4 separate regions of the Homo sapiens genome follow, and all the other regions are linked to region 3. Evidence: promoter capture Hi-C in human tissues and cell types (Jung and others, 2019). All regions are on one chromosome and are shown on one strand. Each heading gives the region's core, a stretch centred on a gene start or on the middle of the fragment in contact. The rest is flanking DNA. Distances are from core to core; before and after follow the strand shown. Region 1 overlaps LINC01007 (long intergenic non-protein coding RNA 1007). Region 2 has its middle 4.9 kb from the start of IFT22. Region 3 holds the start of SH2B2 (SH2B adaptor protein 2). Region 4 has its middle 3.9 kb from the start of MYL10.

Region 1 (3,598 bases), core at 802-3,301, 720 kb after region 3:
GGTTGAAGCACTGAGATTCCGGGATGAATTTGGTATTTCTGAATAGCCAATTTTGCCTTGACTTGGGATCATACCATATGTCTACTTTGGTACCGTAACTATAGCTGTTGATGGATGTTTGCCCTGTTTTGCCTTTTTGCTCCTTTCCTTCCTTCCTTGGTTCTTTCCTTCATTCTTCTTTCTCTCTTTCTTTTCTCTATATTTCCTTGCTTTCTCTCTCTTCCTCTATTTCTTTCTCTATTTTTCTTTCTTTCTCAGTTTAGTTCTCCTGTGTTCCTGTTGATTCCAAGCCCTACAATTTTCTTCCAATGAATTCCTTTTCTGCTTTATCCAGACAGCCAGAGTGGGTTTCTATTGCTGTCAGCTAAGAAACCCAAATGGTATACTATTTTCCGCTTAATATTATGTCATAGACATATTTCCATGCCATTAAGTATTATTCAAAATATTATTTTAATGGCTGCACAATAGTTCATCATATTTATGTATCATAATTTATTTAACCATGCCCACGTGTTTTAGTAAATTATAAACTTCTATTAAATACTTATAATGAATATTATCATATCTACATTTTTGGCTTCAATCCTGGACAGCACCTTAGGATATCTTCGGAGTGAAATTACCAGCTGAATAGTGTGAACATTTTAAAATCTCTTGTGGCATAAACTTAATTTTTTTCCTAGAAATTTTATACCAACTTGTATTTTCACATGTGAGATGAATAGGAATACTCAATTTTACTCCACTCAATGAGATTGAATGCTATAATTATATTTAAACGTTCTTTGATAAGCTATAGGAGAAAATCTCATTGATGTTTTAATGGGCATTTCTTTGATGACCAATGAAGCTGAATATTTAAAAATATTTTATTACATATTTTTATTTCATCTTTTGGGCATTTCTCATTCACTATTTTTCTATTGGACTGTTCATTTTTATTGATTTGTAATTACTTTTTACATATTAGAGGTATTAATCTTTTGTCATATTTCTTGCAACCATTTTATTCTTTTTTGTAGTCTCCCAATAAAATTAACTAAATAATTTTTAAAACAAGGAGATTTAAATTTTATGTATTAAATTCTACCTTAATCTTTGTTATTTTTTCTACTGCTTTTAGGTTTAAAATGTTTCCATGTACCCCCAAGATCAAACATTTGTTTGCTTTTTAATGATTTCCCTTTCTTACATTTAATTCTTTAGGTCCTCTGGAATTTATATTAATGTATGGTGTGAAGGAAAGAGCTAATTTTATTTCCTTCCAAATAGCTAACCAAATGTCCCGGCATCATTTATTGAATAATCCATTTCTTCCCTACAGGTTTGCAACGCCACCTCAGTAAGCTGAGACATGGTAATCGCCATGGCAACGGGGCTGCATTAAAAGCATTGTGCGCACAAAGTGAAAGGCTGCTGCCTGGCAGAGTTCAGTCTGGTCTCACTGCACCTGTTCCCTAATTAAGATGCACCTTTTGGTTTTGTCTTTTGAAAAAAACAAAATGCTCCCTTTATCGCCACGAGGCAAAAGAAAAATTAAGGCCAAGATCCTTTCATGCCCAATATGGGCCTGCCCGGTGGTTGGAGCATGGGGGATCATGGGCAGCAAGTGAGAAAGTGCACAGTGATTTGCTGCTGTTACATCCTGAGAAACTGGAGGGCTGTCATCAAAGTCCTCGAATAGCTGGAGAGTGGGTGTGGGATGGTTACGTTTGAAAATGCAGCTCTGATATAAAAGAAAGCAAAGACTGCACTGTTTTCCCAGCAAGAGCCTAGCTGGAGACTCTAAGCCTAAGATAGAAGCTTCTGCCATCAACAGGCCACAAAACCCATACTTCCTGCTCTATGAGGCTTCTGACCTTGGTTCCCTAGAATCCTCCCTCCTTATCAAGTATCTGTGTCTAGGCCTAGGGGAGACCAGACCGAGGTCTGTCCTTGTCTGCCTACAAGGACAAGGCATTCTACTGCTGTAGACCACTTGTTTATGTGCCCCTAAAATTTGTATGTTAAAGCCTGAATCCCCATTGTGATGACATTTGGAGGTGGGGCCATCGAAAGGTGATTAGGTTTATATGAGTTCATGAGGGTGGGGCCCTCATAATGGTATTAATGTCCTTATAAGAAGAGACACAACAGAGCTTGCTTCCTCTCTCTCTCCCCACCATGTGAAGACACAGCAAGAAGGCGGCCATCTGCAAACCAGAAAGAGAGCCCTCACCAGGAACCGGATCTGCTGGCACCTTGATCTTGGACTTCCTATCCTTTAGAGCTGTGAGAAATGTCGCCCCCAGGTCAATGGGATATTTGTTACAGCACCAGGTACTGCCTGAGAACTCTACCTTTAGGGAGCCTGCGTGCTGGGTCACTGGGGAGACAATGAAGGTGCTTGACACCCAGTTTGAATATTGTGTCACTGCAAAGCTGACTGCTGTTGAAGGATAGCCAGTGAGAGGTCATGGCAAGCCATCAGAAGAAGCAGAAGTCATGAGCATGCTGAAGCTATGAGGCCAAGACAAAATGTCACATTGCCACAAGAAGAGGGACAAACAGGCAACAGGCAGAGCCCATGGGAATCAGTAATCTCCTGCTGACACTGAGGCCTTGGGACTAACTCAGATCCAGTACTACTCTCTTGGGACCTGTTCTGACTCCAGCTCCTGTCCTTGGGGTCCACTGAGATCCCTGTAGCCTTGTAATAAGCCCACATTATCATATTTCCCCTGCCGGCTCCACCCTAGAGCATTTCCAACAATTTCCAGTGCTTTTCCCCTTCTCATACCACTGGGCCTTTGCACGTGCTCGTGCCTCCCCAACTTGCCCTGCCTTCTCCTTCACCCAGACAACTCCTACTAAATCTCTCAGACTCCTCAGCTGTGTCCCTTCCTAGGGGAGGACTCTCTTCCCTCCAGTGAGCCCGGTGGTCCTCCCTGGGATCCCCTGCTCCTTGTCTTCCCTGCCGTCCTTACTGCCATCCTTGTTCTCTACTCAGAAGGAGGCAGAGGCTGGCCTGCCCCCAATCCCCTGTAGACTGACCAGATGAATTGACCTGGGCTGGGCAGGGCAGGCGTGTTTGACCAGTTGTCTGGGCACCCCATGGCTCAGTCAAGTTGACACATAAAGTTCACCGCCCCAGGGCCCCTTCGTTGTATTTGTGTATGAATAAAACACAGCATCCACTCCAGGTATCTGAGGGTCCTGGAGGCAGGTTTTGTGATCCCTTTTTACAGATGAGGATGCGGAGGTCCAGTTGTCACTCACCCAGATCACACTCTCATCTGCTGATGGGAGGAGTATTTGATGGGATGTGTGAGCCCGGCCGTCTCCCTTGGGACACATCAGCTCATTAAATTTGCCAGCCCCTGCCTGAAAAAGTATTTAATTTGCCTTTTACAATGCACCCATTGCAAGTTAATTAACTGGCAATTGAAAGTTATAGGTGGCATTAGAATTTATTAATAACATTGGGAATAAATCTCCCTGGAATTCAATTAACTGAAAACCTCATGAAATTCTTTTTTTATATAATCCATAAAGCCGGTCTGGGAGAGAGGTGTTCCAGAAATCTCGGGGGTGGTGGAAACTGCAGGCGTGGAGG
Region 2 (3,578 bases), core at 475-2,974, 960 kb after region 3:
AATTAGTCGGGTGCAGTGGCAGGCACATGTAGTCCCAGCTACTCGGGAGGCTGAGGCAGAAGAAGCACCTACACCTGGGAGGCGGAGTTTGCAGTAAGCTGAGATCTCATCACTGCACTCCAGCCTGGGCGACAGAGTGTCTGTCTCAAATAAATAAATAAGTAAATAAATAAATAAATAAATAAATAAATAAATAAATAAAAGCAAGTCTTTCTGTGAATGTATAAAGTTGCAAGCCCAGTAATGCAGGTGCTCTAAGCAGTCCACAGGTGTGTCAGTCATTCCTGGGCACTATCAGATATAATTTTGTGTGCCTATAGGATCTCATTTGCCCTTGACCGTAAATGCAGTGTGGAGGGTATATCAAGACTTTTTAGGTCATGAGTGTAGTTGGACTTTGCAGCTGCCTGTTTCATGTACTGTAGCCTTCACTTTAAGCAGATAAAATATACAGAATTTTGAGCAAACTAAGTTGGAAAAGCAGGAAATCAGCTCACATTAGCAAGCACAAAATGGCTATATAAAAATAAATTTTAGGCCAGGCATGGTGGCTCATGCTGGGAGGCCGAGATGAGAGGATCACTTGAGGCCAAGAGTTGGAGACCAGCCTGGACAACTTAGGGAGACCTCATCTCTACAAAAAAATGTTTTTTAAAAAAATGGCCAGGCATAGTGGTGCACACCCTGTGGTTCTAGCCACTCGGGAAGTTGAAATGAGAAGATCATTTGCACCCAGGAGCTCGAGGATGCAGTAAGCTATGGTCTCGCCACTGCACTCCAGCCTGGGTGACACAGTGACACCCTGTCCCTAAAAGAAAAAAGAAATTTCAGCAGGCGTGCATCATATGTTAGAGACATTAATTTATCTGCAGTAAGTTAAACATGTAAGTGCTTTCTCCTGGGAGGGCAACGAAGGGAGGCAGAAAAAACCATAAAGTTTTAGTGCTCAAAAGATATAATCAATGTAGCGGGACAGCCCGGCGCAATGGCTCACGCCTGTAATCCCAGCACTTTGGGAGGCCAAGGCAGGTGGATCGCTTGAGTTCAGGAGTTCGAGACCATCCTGGGCAACATGGCAAAACCCCATCTCTACAAAAAATTTAAAAATTAGAGGCTGAGGCGGGCGGATCACGAGGTCAGGAGATCGAGACCATCCTGGCTAACACGGTGAAACCCCGTCTCTACTAAAAATACAAAAAAATTAGCCAGGCGTGGTGGCAGGTGCCTGTAGTCCCAGCTACTCGGGAGGCTGAGGCAGGAGAATGGCGTGAACCCGGGAAGTGGAGCTTAGAGTGAGCCGAGATTGCACCACTGCACTGCACTCCAGCCTGGGGGACAGAGTGAGACTCCATCTCGAAAAAATAAATAAATAAATTAGCTGGGCATGGTGGCATGTACCTGTGGGAGGCTGAGGCACAAGGACTGCTTGAACCTGGGAGGTGGAGGTTGCAATGAACTGAGATCATGCCACTGCACTCCAGTCTGGGTGGCAGAGACAGACCCTGTCTCAAAAAAAAAAAAAATGCAATGGGAAAATTCTGTGGGTGTGGAGACATTAGTCAAAAGCATCATGAGGCCGGTCATGGTGGTTCACGCCTGTAATCCCAGCACTTTGGGAGGCCAAGGCGGGCAGATCACCTGGGGTCGGGAGTTTAAGACCGGCCTGACCAACATGGAGAAACCCTGTCTCTACTAAAAATAAAAAATTAGCCAGGAGTGGTGGCACATGCCTGTAATCCCAGCTACTCAGGAGGTTGAGGCAGGAGAATCACTTGAACCCAGGAGGTAGCGGTTGCAGTGAGCAGAGATCGCGCCATTGTATTCCAGCTTGGGCAACAAGAGCGAAACTCCATCTCAAAAAAAAAAAAAAAAAAAAAAACGCATCACAAAAATATTCTAAAGGCCTATGAGTGCTATAAGTGATCACAGCTATCAGATATCAACCATCTGTCATGTGCCGGGAATTAGACTAAATAACTTGCATGCCTCATCACATTCAATCCTCGTAACAACCCTATAGGATTAGTTTTAGGATCCTCAGTTTAGTTTATTTTGTTTTATTTTATTTTTGTGAGAGTCTCACTCTATTGCCCAGGCTGGAGTGCAGTGACACGATCTTGGCTCACTACAACCTCTGCCTCCTGGATTCAAGCAATTCTAGGATCCCCATTTTAGTGAGAGAAAAACTGAGGCTTGGCTAATTTTATAATTTTTTTTTTTTTTTGAGAGGAAGTTTTGCTCTTGTCGCCCAGGCTGGAGAGTGCAGTGGTGCAACCTTGGCTCACTGTAACAGTTGCCTCCTGGGTTCAAGAGATTCTCCTGCCTCAGCCTCCCGAGTAGCTGGGATTACAGATGTGCACCACCACGCCCGGCTAATTTTTGTATTTTTAGTAGAGACGGGGTTTCACCATGTTGGCGAGGCTGGTCTTGAACTCCTGACCTTGTGATCTGCCCGCCAGCCTCAGCCTCCCAAAGTGCTAGGATTATAGGCGTGAGCCACTGTGCCAGGTCTAAACCTCTTTTCTTTATAAATTACCCAGTCTCAGGTATGTGGTTGTTTTTGTTTGTTTGTTTGTTTGTTTGTTTTGTTTTGTTTTGTTTTGAGACAGGGTCTCGCTCTTGTTGCCCAGGCTGGAGTGCAATGGTACAATCTCGGCTCACTGCAACCTCCACCTCCTGGGTTCAAGCGATTGTCCTGCCTCAGCCTCCCAAGTAGCTGGGATCACAGGCATCTGCCACCACACCTGGCTAACTTTTGTATTTTTAGTAGAGACGGGGTTTCACCATGTTTGCCAGGCTGGTCTTGAACTGCTGGCCTCGAGCGATCTGCCCGCCTTGGCCTCCCAAAGTTCTAGAATTACAGGTGTGAGCCACCACACCTGGCCTCACTCACCTACTTTCAAATTGTCTTACTCCAAAATCGGTACTCTTTCCATGGCACAACACCACCTCCCAAAATCCCTTCTACAGGACACGGCCAAATGCAGGCTATAGGCTCCTGGTCCAGCCATATCCCTGTTTCACTGCTTTGCCAAAAGCTTTATCTTCAGTTGGCTGGGAAATATTTTTTATATTGAAAGTATAGCTCAGGCTTTCTAATGAGAATTGATGAAAAGTTGATCATTTTTTGTCCTAAATTGATTTTGTCCATCATTGATTTTGTCCTAAACCAAACTTGCTGGACATCATCTCTGGCTACAGCTTTATTCCTTTTTTTAAATTAAAAAAAAAAAAAGATGACAGCATTCATAGGGGACAAAATATTTCCAGGTTACAAACCATCTGGTAAAATTCCTGTCTTCAAGAGTTGAACGGAAAAGGTTCAAATCCTCCCGCTGCAGGAGAAGGTAATTGAAGGGCATTTGATTCCCTTGAGTCACGGGAAACCCACAATTTATTCTTTAGTAATAAAAACTGCATGTGTAATCATTGAGACCGTGGAGGGTCAACTCAAAGACTTTATGGCTGGGGGTTATATTAAATCTTTTCAAAAATTTATAGAAGGGATTTGAAATATGTCAAACTTATTTCTTTAGGTTTTTTGCAAGAGAAAGATTTTATTGCATTGAATCACAGAA
Region 3 (3,610 bases), core at 1,081-3,580:
TGCTTCACCCAGAGGAACCAAAAGATGCTGCACGCCCACACAGCGATGCCCTGCCTTGCTCTGCCCAAACAGGTGTGGGCTGTGACCTCGTGTTGAGGGGTCACACCTGCTATCCCCCTAGACAGAGCATAGCCATAAAACGGCACCCAGCCAGGTGAGCAGGGAAGAGAAACCTCCCCAGGCCCCAGGGCTCTGACCAGTCCCCTGGCCTCACTTGGACAGTAAGAATGAGCGTAGCCCCGGGAAGACAGCAGCCAGGAGGCCTGAAGCCCCTAAACCCCCAATTCCTTGCAACCCAGGCTGGGTAGGCAGGGCAAGAAGTGCCAGCCTCTTGTCAGAGAGGAGTGGTTGGGAGGCCTGGCTCGTTGACTGCGGGACTTTGGGCCAGTCACTTCCCCTCCCTAAGTGTGTGGGGATAATAATAGCACTAAACCCACAGGATTGTTGTAAAGATGACACGAACGGCGATCCTGATGCCCTTAGCTTGGCACAAGTAAGTTTGAAACCAAAAGCTCAGCCCTGGGAGGCCCAGGATCACTTGGGTGGAGATCCCACTTCCAAGACCCCCAAGGGAAGCCCACCCCTGGGTATTTGTATAGAAGTCCTCCCTAGGAGATTCACGCTAAGTAGGGAAGAGGGATTTAGAAACTTCAGACAGATTTTTCACAACAAGGGTAAAAAGAAAAGCGTGTGCATTAACCCTTGATTACCTAGAAGCATTCAACCAAGCAGCATCAGAAGCCGGCCTGCCACGGGGTGGGGCTGTTCTTGTATGTTGGTAGGACAGACCTCTAAGGAAGTAGCTGGTGGGAAACTGTCTCTGAGACCCCCAAAAATGCCCTGATCCACACTAGCCTAAAAGAAGTGCCACCACCGCCACCACCAGACCTCTCCCAAAGCTCCTGGAGCTGAAAAGTTCTAGGTCACTCTCCCAACCTCTTCCTGCGTGGAGTGGGGAGGCCAGGAGGGAAGAGGTTGGGAGAGTTCAAGGTGGGACACAGTAGTGGGGGCTTCAGCTCAAGAGGCAGTCAAAACCTCTTGGGGAAACCACACCCCCTGCCCCCAGTCCTCCCAGAGGAGCTCCAGGGACCTGACTCTGGGACGCAATTCCTGCCGGGAGTTGCCGGTCCCTTAGCCAGGAGGCAGGCAGCACCATCCCATTTTACAGGGTAGGTGATGTTGGCTCGGGGGCATTGGTAGGGCTCCACCCAGGTCTGACAGCCTAGCCTGAGGCTCTCCCTTGCACTAGCTCGAAGTGCACGTAGATCCTGGCTTATTCGTGTTCAGAGTCTCGCCTGGGGCTGCCCGGTCTGCCTTGCGTGGCTCCTGAGAGGCTCCAGTCACTGCAGACTTCCCTCCCTGAAGGCCCCCACTTCGGGGCTGCAGGGGGCCAGGATGCGTCCCTGCCTCTGCCCGGCTTCAGCCCGCTGGGCTGGCGCGGTTCCGGCCCGCGCAGCCCGCAGGTTCATCAATGGCCGAGGCCCAAGGGCCTGAATGGAGGGCACGAACCCGCCCCTTCTTAAAGGCGCCGGCCTCTTGGGCACCCTCCACGATCCTCCCGGCAATCGGGGGCTCCGGGGAGCTCCCCGGCTGGGCAGGTCGAGAAAGGGGGGCCTGGGCCAAAGGGAGGGCGTGCCTGTGGCCTGGAGGAGGTCCTCCCCGATCCCATCCCGTGGCCCTCACCCTCATTCTAGGTTGACGCCCCCTCCCAGCGCTCCCAGCGTAGGGAAGAGACCTGGGCACCCCTTCCCCCAACCAGAGACCCCTCCTCTAAGGACCCGGCTGCTCTCGCCCCACTACCCGGCCGGGGCCCTAGCAGGGGGCGGGGGCGCAGCTGCTCCAGAGGCGGCTCGGCCCCTCCAGCGGCTCCCCGCCCCGCCCGGGATGGGGATCGGGGAGCAGATCCCAGCCGGGGGCGCCTCCCCTCCCTCGCGCGCCCTCCTCCCTCCCACCCGCGCACACAAAGACGACACGCGCGGACCAAGGCGCGTGCGGCCGCTCTCCTTCGGGCAGCGGTGCGCACACAGCGCACGTCCCCGGGGACAGACAGGGGTCCCGGGGGAAGGACCAGGGAGCGAGGAACTGGGTATAAGGAGGCCATACCTACAGGCGCGCAGCTGCGGCCGAGCGGGCTGGGGCGCCGGCTGAGCGCTGCCCGGACCGCGGCCGGGCTCCCCGGGCCCGGTGGCTCATGGCCCGCGGCGGACTGGGCTCCCTCCCTCGTTCACCGCCTCGAAGGCTCCTGCGCTCCTCGCGGTCCCGGCGCGTCCCCCGCGCGGCTCTCTGGCAGCCGAGCTCCGCGCGCTCCAAGCCCAGCCCCAGCGCGGCGCGCCCCTCCGCCCGCGAGGCGCGCGCCTCCCGGCCCCGCCCCGCCCCCGCCCCCGCCGCGAGCCCCGGCCCCGCCCCCCCTCGCGCGTCCTGGCCCCGCCCCCTCCCGCCCCCACTTGCGCCGCTCAGGCCCCGCCCCCGGCCATCCGCGGAGCCCGAGCGGCGCCGGTGGCCGGTGCTTGCTGGCTCCCCGCAGCTGCGGTGCCGAGACTGCCCGGTCCTGGGGCCCGGAGAGAGGGGTTAGGAGCCGGCTCCGAGTCGCCCCATCTGGGCGGGGGTCCCCATGTCGCCGAGCCGGCCCCAGGCCAGGCGCGGGACTCCCACTCCTCCTCGTGGAGGCCACCCCTCGAGCCCGCGGTGGTGGTGGCCCCGGGAGCGCGGAGCGTGGGGCCGGGGGAATGTCCTGCGTGGCGGGTGTATGGGACGCGGACGCCCTCGAAGCGCCCCTCGCTGACGGGTGCTTCGCGGGAGCCGCCGCTGTGGCCAGACTCTCCGCAGCAGGGACAATGGGAGCCTGGAGGAGGCCTGGATGTCGCAACGGAGGAAGTCGACGCCTGGTTCTCATAAATCTCGAGGGCGCCACCACGCCCCCTCCCTGCAGCCCTCCGGTGCGGGAAATCGCCCCCGGGCCACAGGGCGGGACGGCCCCCCTGAGCGCAGTGCCCCCACCACCCAGCCTTCGCTGTGATGGGGGCCTGATGCCACCCGGAGAGGTGTCAGAGATCATAGAGGGGCGATGAGGGGCCACAACCCTGGCACCTTCCTCACCCCTGCCTGGCTCCAGAACTCGCCTGCTTTAGGGCAGAGACCAGTGGGGCTGAGGAAACAGTCCCGCTGGGCTTTGCGGGGCATTTGTAGCCTGACCCCTGGTGCTGAGGGCACAGCGCGGGGGCTCTGGGAGGCTTCCTGAAAGAGGTGCAGGGGGCTCAGCAGGCCTGGAAGGGGTCTGAGAGGGGAGGGAGGGCTTCGGTGGGGGCAGAGGTGTGGAAAGGGCCGCTCAGAGAAGAGAGTAGTCTTGCTCCTGGAGATAGCAGGGGGGGACCCCTGGGTGTCTTCTCCCCTCATCTCCCTCCTTGTCCCCTGCCCCCACCTCTGGCAGTTCTGTCCTGGTCTCCTTGCCAGCCGGAGCTGCCTCCATCTGTCGCCCTCCCGGGCCCAAACTGACCTCTGACTTTTCCCAGAGCCATTTCCCATCTCTAATTTACAGACAAGGGTTTTTATCAAACCCTTCTTAGGGATGGAAAGGTGGGGCTTCCAGAGTTGAAGGTGGAGGGGACAGAGC
Region 4 (3,570 bases), core at 297-2,796, 650 kb after region 3:
GACTTCCAGTCCCACTGGGCAGAAAAACCCTACCCCTTTCTCCTCCTGTCAGCCATTGATTCTACAGCTTTTTTTTTCTTTTCTTTTCTTTTTTTTTTTTTTTTTTTTTTGAGACAGGGTCTTCCTCCATCTCCCAGGCTGGAGTGCAGTGGTGTGATTTCGGCTCACTGCAACCTCCGCCTCCTGGGTTCAAATGATTCTCCTGCCTCAGCCTCCTGAGTAGCTGGGATTACAGGTGTGTGCCACCACACCCGGCTAATTTTTTTTTTTTTTGTAAGCAGAGATGGGGTTTCACAATGTTAGCCAGGCTGGTCTCGAACTCCTGACCTCAGTGATCCTCCCACCTTGCCTCCCAAAGTGCTTGGATTACAAGCGTGAGCCACCGTGCCTGGCCATCCACAGCTATTTTTACAGCAGGATGCTGTGACCACAGGCCCCTTGAATGGGATGCCTCTCTTGAGCTTCTGTGGGCGAGAGAGCACATTCACCAGCCCGCTGAGCTGCAGCTATAAAACAGGCAAGAGGCATTCCAGGAGGCATTCTTAGTTTAAAGGTTTCTTTGTCTTTTCTAAGTGATCTCCAGTTGGAAGAAGGCTCCAGATGGGACGGGAGCTGGGGAGGAGGGGACACCAGGGGCTTTCGGAAAAGACAGCCCACCGTCTCTAACTGTCAACATCTCAGGCATCCCACCTGGCAATGAGAGAGTTGATGGACATACGAGGCTATTTCCTCTGGCTTAAGGGAGAAAGAGGCGAACTGGCCCTGAGTCAGGGTCTGTCTGAAATGCTATGTGTGGCTGCTCTGGCCTGAGCCGGCCTCTAGTTCTCGGTCGGCTCCAGCCTGTCAGGAGCCTTGATGGCTGCAGGAGCTCAGGGGCTGTGTGCACCCCCAATCTGGAGCCATTTTCTCAATATGTGACAGAGATGGGTAAAGGAGATACAGATGGGGGAGTGGGCAAATGGCATTCTGTGGCTTTGGGTGTTTCCTGTGGACCCAGCCTACTGTGTGTCCTTGGGCCACAGGGTCTAAGGGAAGCCATGGTGCAGGGCTGTGACATTTGGGATGGGGCGAGGGGTCATCCAATGAGTCATGCTGCCCTGGCCAGGCCAGAAAGGGCAGGCCGTGAGGGCGTCTCTCTTCCACTAAGGACACTGGAGCCTTGGCACAGGAAGCACGTTCTGGAAGCCCAACAGAGGCATCTCTTGGCTCAGTGTCTTGTCACAGGCAGCATGTCCTCTGCCAATAACCAGACAGGATTGGTAGCCGCAGTCTACAAGCGCCAGGCATGTAACAAACTTGCCAAGTGAAAACTGATTCCATGTGACAGGTGGAGAAGCTGAGGATTCTGGGAAATTCAGTGATGTGGGTGAGGTCACAGAGCAAGTGGTCCAGCAGGACTTGAAGTCACTTTCATCTGATTTCAAATTCATGCTCTCATCTTCCCCAGAGCCCTGAGGAGTAGACTATGGCTGTGTAGCCTGTCCCCCTACAGAGCACATTTAAATCTCACTGTGATGGTTATTATGATATTTTGTAAAGAATCAGCCCAAAGCACAGCGCATGGTGGCTCATGCCTGTAATCCCAGCAGTTTGGGAGGCCGAAGCGGACAGATCACTTGTGGTCAGGACTTCAAGGCCAGCCTGGCCAACATGGTGAAACCAGTCTCTACTAAAAATACAAAAATTAGCTGGGCGTGGTGTTGGGTGCCTGTAATCCCAGCTACTCGGGAGGCTGAGGCAGAAGAATCACTTAAACCCAGGAGGTGGAGGTTGCAGTGAGCTGAGATCACACCACTATACTCCAGCCTGGGCAACAGAGTGAGACTCTATCTCAAAGAAAAACAAAAAACAAAAAAAAACCCCAAAGCATAGCAGTGTGCTCAGGGGTTCTTATGGATCAGAAATTCAGAAAAGGGATGGTGAGGGTGGCTTGTCATAATGTCTAGGGCCTCAGCTCGGGGGACTCTAAGGATGGGGATGACTCCATGGCTGGTGCCAGAATCACTTGAAGACTGGTCATTCACACGTTTGTTGTCTGGGAGGCTCGGATGATGACTCAAAGGCAGGGACTGCTGACTGGAGTACAGACACGGGGCCTCTTCGTGTGACTTGGTCTTCCCTACAACATGGCCGCCTCATGGTAGTCAGACTCGTCATAGAGTGACTCAGGGCTCCAGCACAAAGTCCCAGCAAATAAGGTAGAAGCTCCATGGCTTTTTGTGACTTAACCTCAGAAGTCACATAGTGACACTTCTACCCTACTTTCTTGGTCAAAGCAGTCACAAAAGCCTGCCTGTTGGCAAGGAATGATGTTATAGATCCCGCCTCTCCATGGAAAAAGTGTCAAAGAATTTGCAGGCATTTTTTACGGCAGCCTGGGATTGCTCAGGGAAGGTCAGAAAGTGGCCTAGGCTCTCAAATTCAGTAGGTAGGTGTGATGGCTAATATTAAGTATCAACTTGATTGGATTGAAGGATGCAAAGTATTGTTTCTGGGTATGTCTGTGAGGGTGTTGGTAGAGGAAATTAACATTTGAGTCGGTGGACTGAGAGAAGCAGACCCACCCTTAATCTGTGTGGGCAGCGTCTAATCAGCCAGTGAGGCCAGAATAAAGCAGAAAGAAGAAAGTGGAATAAGAAGACTCACTGAGTCTTCCAGCCTTCATCTTCTGTGCTGGAAGCTTCCTGCCCTCGAACATCAGACTCCAAGTTCTTCAGCTTTTGAACTCTTGAACTTAAACCAGTGGTTTGCCAGGAGCTCTTGGGCCTTCGGCCACAGACTGAAGGCAGCACTGTTGGCTTCCTTTTGTTTTTGTTGTTTTTTGTTTTTTGTGTTTTCTTTTGAGACACAGTCTCACTCTGTTACCCAGGCTAGAGTGCAGTGGTGCTATCTCAGCTCACTGCAACTTCCACCTCCCAGGTTCAAGCGATTCTCCTGCCTCGGCCTCCCGAGTAGCTGGGATTACAGACGCACACCACCACGCCTGGCTAATTTTTGTACTTTTAGTAGAGACAGCGTTTTGCCGTGTTGTCCAGGCTGGTCTTGACCTCCTGAACTCAGGTGATCCACCCACTTTGGCCTCCTAAAGTTCTGAGATTACAGGCGGGAGCCACCACGGCCGTCCGAGAGGTGTTCTAAAGCAGGCTGGAGACTGATTGTGATGAGTAGGGAAACATACAATGTGGCCAAAGGCTTGGAGGAAGGAGATTTCGGGAAGAATTTGCAGAACAGCCAAGGTCAGGGTGATGGCTGGCCAGGGAAGGGGTCAAGGGCTGTGGGGCTGGGGGACAGGGACAGCCTGCTGACCCTGAGGAGTTATAGGTGAGAGGTTAGGGGTGAGGGTTGAAAGGGGAAGGCATCTCCCCGGCTTGTTCCAGTGTTGTCTGGGGAACAGCTGTCCCCCTGCCAGGCAGCTGGGCTCGTTCCAAGCTCCCTTCCTGGCTTGGCCACTCCCAGGACCTCAGTTACCTCTGGAAACCGAGAGTGCTAAGTATTCTCTGACTCAACCCCAGGCAGACCTGGAATTCCAGTTCCAGAGGACACTTACTCTCCAGGGTCCCCTGGCTGGGA

The links. The method cuts DNA at HindIII sites, captures the fragments that hold promoters and counts their contacts. A contact is called where the count stands out against the background at its distance.
Region 1: a fragment that was not itself captured here is called in contact with the fragment with the promoter of SH2B2 in region 3 in 2 of the 25 tissues and cell types used here (lymphoblastoid cells and spleen).
Region 2: a contact is called between a fragment that was not itself captured here and the fragment with the promoter of SH2B2 in region 3, in 1 of the 25 tissues and cell types used here (dorsolateral prefrontal cortex).
Region 4: a fragment that was not itself captured here is called in contact with the fragment with the promoter of SH2B2 in region 3 in 3 of the 25 tissues and cell types used here (lymphoblastoid cells, mesendoderm cells and spleen).

What each region holds. Positions count from the first base shown.
Region 1 is chr7:101,565,210-101,568,807 of GRCh38, reverse strand. It overlaps LINC01007 (long intergenic non-protein coding RNA 1007), which reads left to right. Exons shown (of 3, transcript NR_103749.1): 2 at 2,175-2,322. Among named protein-coding and RNA genes, the nearest start is that of LINC01007, 2.0 kb to the left of the region's middle. RefSeq lists an enhancer at 3,224-3,598. The HindIII fragment of the contact is 8,608 bases long and covers 1-3,598 here.
Region 2 is chr7:101,324,962-101,328,539 of GRCh38, reverse strand. No RefSeq gene overlaps it. Among named protein-coding and RNA genes, the nearest start is that of IFT22, 4.9 kb to the right of the region's middle. The HindIII fragment of the contact is 3,914 bases long and covers 1-3,578 here.
Region 3 is chr7:102,285,588-102,289,197 of GRCh38, reverse strand. SH2B2 (SH2B adaptor protein 2) reads right to left here and starts at 2,330. Exons shown (of 9, transcript NM_001359228.2): 1 at 2,104-2,330. RefSeq lists an enhancer at 583-672 and silencers at 1,823-2,362, 2,433-3,012. The HindIII fragment of the contact is 12,688 bases long and covers 1,678-3,610 here.
Region 4 is chr7:101,631,383-101,634,952 of GRCh38, reverse strand. No RefSeq gene overlaps it. Among named protein-coding and RNA genes, the nearest start is that of MYL10, 3.9 kb to the right of the region's middle. The HindIII fragment of the contact is 5,470 bases long and covers 1-3,570 here.